3 separate regions of the Homo sapiens genome follow, and regions 2 and 3 are each linked to region 1. Evidence: promoter capture Hi-C in human tissues and cell types (Jung and others, 2019). All regions are on one chromosome and are shown on one strand. The core of a region is centred on a gene start or on the middle of the fragment in contact, and the rest is flanking DNA. Distances in the headings are between cores, read along the strand shown.

Region 1 (3,397 bases), core at 230-2,729:
ACCAGCATAATGGAGTCCACCCTGAGTACGGCCAGCGAGGAGAGGCAGAGAGAGGCAGTTAGGGGAGCCTGGGAGGGCCAGGAGGAGACCCTGCACTGGACACTTTTGTCTCTACTTCTCAGAGTCCGTTCCTCTGCCTCCTCTCCCCAGGCCCTCTCCACTGACCTCACAAATCTGTTTCCTGTCACCACAAGGCAACTTTTTTTTAAAAGCACCTCTTCAGAGCCAGGCACTCTACAAATATGCATTAATTCTCATGGCAATCCTGAGAGGTAAATAGTGTCATTCCCATTTGAGAGACAGACAAGCTGAGGCTCCTTGAAGTTAAAATACGTGTGCACAAAAGGCAGTAGAACATGGTGGTTTAGAGCACAGGACAAAGCCGGGCGCGGTGGCTCATGCCTGTAATCCCAGCACTTTGGGAGGCCGAGGTGGGCAGATCACAAGGTCAGGAGATCGAGACCATCCTGGCTAACACGGCGAAACCCCGTCTCTACTAAAAATACAAAATATTAGCTGGGCGTGGTGGCAGGCGCCTGTAGTCCCAGCTACTCGGGAGGCTGAGGCAGGAGAATGGCATGAACTCAGGAGGCGGAGCTTGCAGTGAGCCGAGATGGAGCCACTGCACTCCAGCCTGGGCGACAGAGCACGACTTCATCTCAAAAAAAAAAAAAAAAAAAAAGAGAAAAATAGAGCACAGGACAGATCTTAACCAACCCGGGCCTGTTAGCTCCTTTTCACTGGATGATGTATGAGGGAATTTTACTTTGCTGAGGCCTTACTTCCCCAGTAGTAAATGAGAGAATATCACTGCTTAACTTCATGGGGCTTTGTGAGGGTTTGAAAAAGTGATGTATCAAAAGCTCCTGGCACTGGGCTTGGCAGGTGCAAATGTTGAGCAATGTTAACTGTTAACACTGCCCAAGGCCATCACAGGAGGAATATTTGCAATCTGTCCGTGGCTCTGGCTCCAAAGCCTCAGGGACGCTCACTTTTTCTGCCCACACCCTCACTCACACTCAGTCTCCCTTCTCCGGGGCCTCTCCCTGCGAACCGCTACCTGGACCCCTAGCCTCACGGGGCACTCGCAGTGCCTGTTCTGCCGGGCAGGTACCTGCTCCTGGCCCTGGTGTCCCACCCGTTCCAGGATTGGCAAAGGCCGCCCTGACGTGCCCGGCCCTGTGGTTCTGCGGCCGCGCAGTACAGGCTGAGACAGACCCCGATCTCATGCAACGCCCCCGGCCCCGGCCTGGGCTCACCCAGTGCCACAGGCTACGTCGAGCACCCGCTGGCAGCCGTGCTGGCGCAGCAGCCCAAGCAGCCATGCCTTGTACTCGGCGGTGCGGCTGCGGGTGTCTCCGATATACAGCTGCCACACGCGCGCCGCCTCCCCGTCCGCGTACTGGTCCGGGAGCCCTTCGGCCGCCACCCCCAGGGAGCGGGTCCGGTACACGCTGTCCACCATCCTGCGCCGCGCCTGGCTCCGCAGCCACCCGCTCCGCACTTAAAGCATAAGCACTGCTGGCAGCCGACAGCCCCACCTGGCCAATAGCAGGTGAGCGCGCGGACACGCCCCTGCCGGGCTTTGGGCCGGGCGCCCGAGTCTGTCCAGCTGCAGGGAGGGCGCTGCCTCGCAATCCTGGGCTAGGTCCTTTTAGCCAGCCTGCGGACCCAGCCCTCTGTGCAATCCCACGGCGGGAGAGGACCCTCGGAGCCCTCTGCCCACTTAACCCGGGTCTCGAGGAGAAGGCGAGAGGGGTCAGGAGAGGCGGGAGCAATGAGATTGCCACTCCATCCCCTGAGATCCGCAGAGCTGAGCGCCAGGCGGGCAGGACTGGACCGTTCCCAGCGAAGGAAGGCATCAGCATATCTAAACAAAGATTGTGCCACCGAAGTGTGTAGGTATAGTCAGCCGGTGCAGGGAAGACAGGGGGAGTCTCTGGAGGTAAAGCTGGTCTGTCCACCGAATCCAGGGGCGGAGCCCGGCTGGAATACGGTAACACGGTAACACGGTGAAACCTGGCTAACACGTCTCTACTAAAAATAAAGAAAGATTAGCTGGGACATGGTGACACGCGCCTGTAGTCCTAGCTACTCCGGAGGCTGAGCCAGGAGAATCGCTTGAACCCGGGAAGGCGGAAGTTGCAGTGAGCCGAGTGCACCACTGCACTCCAGCCTGGGCAACAGAGCAAGACTCCGTCTCAAAAAACAAAAAGCAAAAAACAAACAAAACCCTCTGCTTTCACAGGAAGCAGGAGAATAGGGTCTAGAGACAGGGAACATAAGGCCAATTCACACTTCAGTTATAACGGGAAATATCCTCTCCATAGGGCGTATGCCCGCCATTAATAACTTTGTAACTGTAACTTTACTTCATCCTCTTCATTTACATAGGGTGTACCCCAAGTAGAGGGTATTTAAACTCACAAAATGTAACAGGGCCTTTGAGCCCCTATGCTCATGCTCGCTCCCACACTGTGGAGTGTACTTTCATTTTCAATAAAATCCTTCATTCCTTTCTTGCTTTGTTTGTGCATTTTGTCCAATTGTTTGTTCAAGATGCCAAGAACCTGGACATCCTCTACCGTTAACATATTTTGGCGAGCCAGCCAGCAGAAAGAGGTAAGCCCAAAGTTTGGGATTCATTTTTCTCCCTTTCCTTTCTGCTCAATTACAGGGCCGCTCTCGCGCTTCTCTCTCTCTCTCTCTCTCTCTCTCTCTCTCTGCCTCTCTCCTCCTTCCTTTCCAACTTGGGACCCTTGGTGGGCAGCGCCTAAACATGGAAGCAACTGCAGGGTTTTTTTTTGTTTTTGTTTTTGTTTTGAGACACAGTCTCGCTCTGTCGCCAGGCTGGAGTGCCGTGGTGCAATCTCAGCTCACTGCAATCTCCGCCTCCCAGATTCAAGCAATTCTCCTGCCTCAGCCTCCTGAGTAGCTGGTATTACAGGCGCTCACCACCACGCCCGGCTAATTTTTGTATTTTTAGAAGAGGCAGGGTTTCACCATGTTGGTCAGGCTGGTCTCAAACTCCTGACCTCGTGATCCACTGGCGTCGGCCTCCCAAAGTGCTGGGATTATAGGTGTGAGCCACAGCGCCCGGTCTGTGCTACTCTTCTAAGCAGGGGGCCTGGTTAACGGGTGATGCTCTCCTTTGGTACTGTTTGGCCCCAGTGCTCCTTGGAGCCTGGGGAGGTTTAGCCTTTAAAAATCAAACTGTCCAGCACTTTAGGAAGCCAAGACAGGTGGATCACGTGGTCAGGAGTTCAAGATCAGCCTGGCCAAGATGCTAAAACCCTGTCTCTACTAAAAATACAAAAATTAGCCAGGCATGGTGGCACGTGCCTGTAATCCCAGCTACTTGGGAGGCTAAGCCAGGAGAATCGCTTGAACCCGGGTG
Region 2 (3,397 bases), core at 898-3,397, 480 kb before region 1:
GAGAAGAGGATGGCTAAGGCCAAGCCCTGGCCCACGGCCTTCCAGTAAGCTTGGTACACGTGCAAGGCCACGGCGCCCTCCTTCTTGCTTTCTTCCTGCAGCAGGCGACCAGATGTGCTCTGCTCCTCCTCCAGCCCCTCCTTTGTTTTCTCTGGGTTCTGTACTGACTGGGCTGTGGCTGTGAGAATCAGGGGTCATGGAAGAATTAAGCTTGCAGGGTGCCAGCTGAAAACTCAGTATTTCAGAGGAGCGGGCAGCCGTTGTAGAAAAAGCTCTACAGTGTGGCAGGGAAAAGCAAGCCCTTTTCTCCCACTGGGGAGCCATACCTGAGTCAGACTCTTGTCCATTCTCAGCCCAGGCTTTGGGGACAGCTTGTACCAGTGGCAGAATCTCAGAGGGAGGTCCTGGAGGGTAGAAGGGGAGATTGGGAGAGGACTGTTCTGAGTCTATACTATGCCTTTCTCAGTGCGTGTGCAGATCCCACCTCTCATCCTCTCAGGCCTCCCCGTCTAACCCACCCTAGCAGGATACCCCTAGACCTCGAGCAGGACTCTTAGGCCTCCCTCTCTAACCCACCCTGCTCTGGATACCCCTAGACCTCGAGCAGGACTCAAGTCCATCCTTGTAAACCTTGATTCCGACCAGCAGAGAGGGACGAATGTCCATCCCCAAGAGGACCGCCAGAGCTATGCCTGCCACTCTGTCCAGGGTTACTTCTCATTACTGCAGAGCTTTTTCTCATGCTTCGCTCAATTCCTAATATCTGGCTGGAGCTTCATTTCCTCCTATTTCTCTCCCAGTAAACTTGCAGGTGGTCACATCCCTCTGCATAAAAATCTTTCAGAGTTTAAAAATTTTTGTTTTTACAAAAAGACCATTCTAAACCTGACTCCTTTCTCTTCTCTGAAGATATGAGAATGTTCTCAGAGACCCTGGGCCTTTAAGTTCCCAAGAGCACCCAGTCACAAAGCCCATGAGTCCCAAATACACTGGCATTTTACCAACGTACTCCTTTTCCCTCCTGTTCTCCCAGTTCCTCACACCAGTTCTGTGAAGGCGGGAGGCAGCAATGACTGGCTCAGGGCACACATGCAGCAGGGGGCAGAGTCTGTACTTCACAATCCCCTGCCAGACCTGGGCAGACACCTCCCTCACACGGGGCTCCTGCCCCCATTACCAGCCCGGATGAGGCGCCCGGCCTCCATCAGCAGCACCGCGTCAGCCCTCTCCAGGTACTCAGTGCGGTGGGTGCAGAGCAGCCGTGTGGTGTAGCTCAGCATGCCCAGGATGCACCTGTGCAGCAGGTGGTTGGCCACATCTGCATCCACAGCGGCCAGAGGGTCATCGAGGAGATAGAGCTCCTTTTCCTATGGAGACGTGAGGGTACCGTGGGCACCAGGACCCAAAGGCTCTCCGGAGAAGATCTCAAAGTGATCAGAGAAGACAGTTGAGAGAAACTCTGGGGGCTACCCCTACACTAGCAGAGAAGGAGGTGAGACCTGAGGGTGGACATCCCTTCAGGCAAGAAAGAACAGCACCCCAGGGCCAGCACTCAGCTTTCCTAGGTCCCAGGCCCTCAGCCCATATAACACTTTTTTTTTTTTTTGAGACATGGTCTTGCTCTGTTGCCCAGGCTGGAGTGCAGTGGCATGAACACCACTCACTGCAGCCTCAATTTCCCAGGCTCAAGTGATCCTTCCCACCTCAGCCTCCTGAGTAGCTGGGACTACAGGTGCATGCTATCAAGCCCAGCTAAATTTTTTTGGAGACAGGGTTTCATTCTCATCACCCAGGCTGGAGTGCAATGGTGTGATCTTGGCTCACTGCAACCTCTGCCTCTCGGGTTCAAGCGATTCTCCTGCCTCAGCCTCCCGAGTAGCTGGAATTACAGGCATGTGCCACTATGCCCAGCTAATTTTTGTATGTTTTTCAGTAGCGATGGGGTTTCACCATGTTGGCCCAGCTGGTCTCGAACTCCTGACCTCAAGTGATCCACCCTCCTCGGCCTCTCAAAGTGCTAGGATTACACCAACTAACTTTTTAAAATTATTTTTTGTAGAGACAGGGTTTTGCCACATTGCCCAGGCTGATCTTAAACTCCTGGGCCCAAGCAATCCTCCTGCCTTGGCCTCCCAAAGTGCTGGGATTACAGACCTAAGCCACCATGCCCAGCCTACAAATACTTTTTAAAGGCCTTGAACTCTGCCTTAAATCTGCAAAAGGGGATGAGATGGCCAATACCTCAGGAACATGCAAGGGAGGAGGGAAGGAACCAGATGCTAAGGAAAATATTCCTATCCTCCTAACTCAGCCAAGTTCCCAAGGCTCTGGACTCCCCCCACCTCCCTGCCACTGCAACCTCCATCTTTAACTGACCTGGTAGACAGCACGAGCAAGGGCAATCCGGGCACGCTGTCCTCCGCTAAGGGTGACACCCTTCTCCCCCACCTCTGTCTGGTCTCCAGCAGGCAGGATCTGATGGAACAGGTGCCCCAGTGGGTCAGGGAGCTCCCATTACCTTCTGGCCCACTTCCTATCCCTTTGCAGGAGATAGTGGGAGTCAAGAGAAGTAGGGAGCTTGAGGAGAGTAGACTTAAATTTGGGGTGAGCTAGTCAGAGGAGACAAGACATAATTCCAATAACATCAAGCACTTATTGAACACTATGTGCCTAGCACTTTACAGGCATTCTCTCATTCAAGCCCCAATGTAATCTTATGAAGATGGTATCATTTCCTTTTCTCAGGTGCAACCAAAGCTCAGACAGATTAACTAGCTGGCCCACAGCTAGTAAGGGGCAGGACACAAGTTCAGATTCAGATTCTTAACTACTTTGTTACATTTACTACCCTTTTTTTTTTTTGAGACGGAGTCTCGCTCTGTCGCCAGGCTGGAGTGCAGTGGCACAATCTCAGCTCACTGAAACCTCCACCTCCTGGGTTCAAGCGATTTTCCTGCCTCAGCCTCTCGAGTAGCTGGGACTACAGGCGTGTGCCACCATGCCCAGCTAATTTTTGCATTTTTAGTAGAGACGGGGTTTCACCATGTTAGCCAGGATGGTCTCGATCTCCTGACCTTGTGATCCACCCACCTTGGCCTCCCAAAGTGCTGGGATTATAGGCGTGAGCCACCGTGCCTGGCCTATTACCCTGTCTTTTTAACAGGCAAGGTAGTAAGGTATCTTGGGCAGATTTGATGTAAAAGCTTTTATAGGTTTTTACTTTTTTGTGTGTGTGAGACAGAGTCTTGCTCTGTCGCCCAGGCTGGAGTGCAGTGGCATGATCTCAGCTCACTGCAACCTCCGCCTCTCGGGTTCATGCAATTCTCCTGCCTCAGCCTCCAGAGTAGCTAGGACTACAGGTGTGAGCCATGACACCCAGCTAATTTTTGTTTTTTTT
Region 3 (3,397 bases), core at 288-2,787, 400 kb before region 1:
GTAATTCTACTCAAAAGGGAACATGAAAGGTAATGTGAAAAATTCTAAAACACTTGGCTTCTAAAGACTTGTGGATGTTAGGTTGATTTCTCCTGTTCATCAAAGTAATTTGCACATTTAATGTTCCATTCATGGAGCTATTTATTTAAAAAAAATTATTAACTTTTTAAAAGACAATGTCTTGCTCTGTTGCCCAGCCTGGAGTGCAGTGGCGTGATCATAGTTCACTGTAACCTCAAACTCCTGGGCTCAAGTGGTCCTCCCAGCTCAGTCTAAAGAGTAGCTAGGACTATGGGCTGCACTGCCACACCTGGTGAATTAAAAAATAAATTTTTAGAAATTGGGTTTCTATCTATCTGTGTTGTCCAGGCTAGTCTCCTGACCCCAAGCAATCCTTCTGCCCTGGCCTCTCCAAGTGCTAAGATTACAGGTGTGAGCCATTGTGCCCAGCTTATCGCCTAATTTCTTCTCCTTATTCTGACAGATTGAAGGAGTGGGATTTTTTTCCCTCTGATTTTCTTTAGGGAATAGAAGCAAACAGCTTTCTTGGGGCATTTTTGGGACTCATCAACAGAAAAGAATGGAGAGTTTAGGCTCTGAAGGACCTTTTAAAATATGTATACATTTTTAACAGCTTTATCGAGATGTAATTTGTATACTATATAATTCACCCATTTGAAGTGTACAGTTCAGTGATTTTTCGCATATTCAGAGTTGTGCATCCCTCACTACAATCAATTTTAGAACATTTTTATTACACCAGAAAGAAGCTCTGTTCCTTTAGCCATTACTCCCTCCACCCTACCCCCAGCCATAGGCAATCACTAATCTACTTTCTGTCTCTATAGATTTGCCCGTTCTGGACATTTCATATAAATAGAATCATATAATATGTGGTCTTTTGTGACTGGCTTCTTTCACTTAGCATATTTTTTTTTAAGGTTCATCCGTGTTTGTAGCATTCCTTTTTATTGCTGATAATATTTTATTGTATGGATATACCATGTTTTGTTTATCCATTCATCAGTGGTGAATGAATGGATAACATTTTGATTCTTTTCACTTTTTGGCAATTATGATTAATGCTGCTCTGAACATTGGTATAAAAGTTTTTATATGGACATACATACATTTTTTAAAAACTTGTTTAACAGAGATTTGTAAACACAAAAATGTAGAATAGTACAGTGAAACCCCATGTCCTTATTACCTAACTCCAACAATCAGTTTTTTTAAATAGATAGACTTTATTTTAGAAAACAGTTGAACTTAACCAAGGCTTTCCGGGAGTATCCATCGCTGGACTCTTTCAGGGTATAGGAGATTGTACCCTTTTTAGGGTTCTTACTACAGCCAGTTCTCTTCTCATATCCTTTTGGAGTCCTGGGGAAGGAGGACATGAGCTTCTAATAAGCAACCTGATTTCTGCCTATATGTATGTGATAGCTTTTTTAAGAAAACTGTTTTTATGCCTTTTTTCTGTCTCTACTGGAGATTCCAAGTCTGGACTACAGCTTTTTGAGAGCCATCTCATTTGTAGCTTCTTGATAGTTAGTACTGGTTTAGACCTTGGGCTAGTATGCCGTTTCATGGTGACATGTAATAGTTCTGGTGGGGAGCTGAATGTGGGAGTGTGAATGAACTTGCCACTCCTCATGGAGCCTATGTTTTTTCTCCCTATACTAATATGGTCAGAGACTTTTTGTATGGTAGATGGTGTTTTGGCAATGGAGTGACTCAACTCATGAACATTCCTCTCTGGAAATAGGTGTGTTTATGGCTGACAGACCTATAGAGAAAAATTTTTACCTCAGTTTGATTTCAGAAATCATCCTTGGTTTATTCCCATTTATTCCTATTTCATACTGCATTGAAACCTCAAAATTTCCCAAATTCTTAGGAAGAAGGTGGGTAACAGAAACCTGGATTCCCACAGGTGGCATTCTTGTTAGAGAAGGTAAATAAAGTTTGTCCTTGATAACCTTTCATAAATTTATTCCTAGGTCTACAACTTTGATCAAAGGCAGGCTGGTGAATAAGAAAAGGCAATGTTTTGAGATTCTGCTGGCATAGTCTCAGAGATAGGAAAGCAACTACTAAAAAAACTAAGGAAAAGTCATTTCTAGAAACTCACAACAAAAGTAGCTACTAGAAACTGTAGAAGACACTAATAGTTACCATCCTCTAGATGATAATTCACTCTGGAATGTGAGTGACATGTAAGAACTTTTATTTTTTATTCAGAGTACTTAGAAGTTTTCATACATAAAGTGCTAGAGGATCTTTATTTCTATCTGTGATTTAAATCAGAAACTTTAGTTTTGTGTCATAGCCATAGCCCCTGAGAAGGTTAGCATTATTGGGTGTGGTATAGAATTCTCAGCTAAAAGAATAGCTGTCCCATCCTGGATTTTTACCTCATGCCACAAAGGTCTGAGACCTTTGTATTTAATGAAATAAAAATATATGGTGAACCAAACCATCACTTTCTCTTTTCTAAGCCCAAGATTAGCAGAGTGCTTGTAGATATCCAGAGAAGGCAAAGAGGGTGACAAAACAGGCTGTGAGAGAGCTTTATGGGTTTTAATATGTGAACCATCAAGGCAAAGCATTGGAGAACCTTCTAAATCTTATGAGAAAATCATGCTAATTAGATAAATCAGTAGTTTTTTTAAAAGTTACCATATAGTGATACTTTTTTTTCCCAATTGAATTATTAGAACCTTAATATACAGACTTAAAGTTGGAATTAGTGTGATTTAACTGGGATAGAAGGTCAAGAGCCCTGCTGGTTCTGCTTTTCTAGTACCTCCTTTCTTTTGGTAGCTCCTGAGCACTCTTTACAACCTCTGGAACACAGCTTTAAAACCATTTATCTGAGCCACGTGTGGAGGCTCACGCCTGTAATCCCAGCAGTTTGGGAGGCTGAGGCGGGCAGATCACCTGAGATCAGGAGTTCGAGACCAGCCTGGCCAACATGTGAAACCCCATCTCTACTAAAAAAATGCAAAAAGTCAGCCAGCATGGTGGTGCACACCTGTAATCCCAGCTACTTAAGGAGGTTGAGGCACAAGAATCACTTGAACCAGGGAGGTAGAGGTTGCAGTCAGCCGAGATCATGCCACTGCACTCCAGCCTGGGTGACAGAGCAAGACTCTGTCTTAAACAAAACAGGCTGGGCGCGGTGGCTCATGCCTGTAATCCCAGCACTTTGGGAGGCCAAGGCGGGCTGATCACTAGGTCAGGAGATCAAGACCATCCTGGCTAACATGGTGAAACCCTGTCTCTACTAAAAAATCAGAAAAAAAAAAAAAAAAAAATTAGCCGGGTGTGATGGCTGGTGCCTATAGGCCCAGTTACTCGGGAGACTGAGGCAGGAGAATGGCGTGAACCTGAG

Evidence for each region. The method cuts DNA at HindIII sites, captures the fragments that hold promoters and counts their contacts. A contact is called where the count stands out against the background at its distance.
Region 2: a contact is called between a fragment that was not itself captured here and the fragment with the promoter of GNMT in region 1, in 1 of the 25 tissues and cell types used here (dorsolateral prefrontal cortex).
Region 3: a contact is called between a fragment that was not itself captured here and the fragment with the promoter of GNMT in region 1, in 1 of the 25 tissues and cell types used here (dorsolateral prefrontal cortex).

What each region holds. Positions count from the first base shown.
Region 1 is chr6:42,958,836-42,962,232 of GRCh38, reverse strand. It overlaps GNMT (glycine N-methyltransferase), which reads right to left and starts at 1,479. Exons shown (of 6, transcript NM_018960.6): 1 at 1,260-1,479; 2 at 1-21. The coding sequence starts at 1,465. CNPY3-GNMT (CNPY3-GNMT readthrough) reads right to left here. Exons shown (of 5, transcript NR_134892.2): 2 at 1-21. RefSeq lists enhancers at 1,031-1,080, 1,259-1,760. The HindIII fragment of the contact is 14,111 bases long and covers 1-3,397 here.
Region 2 is chr6:43,440,940-43,444,336 of GRCh38, reverse strand. ABCC10 (ATP binding cassette subfamily C member 10) reads right to left here. Exons shown (of 22, transcript NM_001198934.2): 9 at 2,377-2,475; 10 at 1,178-1,367; 11 at 327-404; 12 at 1-178. Among named protein-coding and RNA genes, the nearest start is that of MIR6780B, 8.1 kb to the right of the region's middle. The HindIII fragment of the contact is 4,033 bases long and covers 131-3,397 here.
Region 3 is chr6:43,358,338-43,361,734 of GRCh38, reverse strand. All of the region lies in intron 2 of ZNF318 (zinc finger protein 318), which reads left to right. Among named protein-coding and RNA genes, the nearest start is that of ZNF318, 9.6 kb to the left of the region's middle. The HindIII fragment of the contact is 8,687 bases long and covers 1-3,397 here.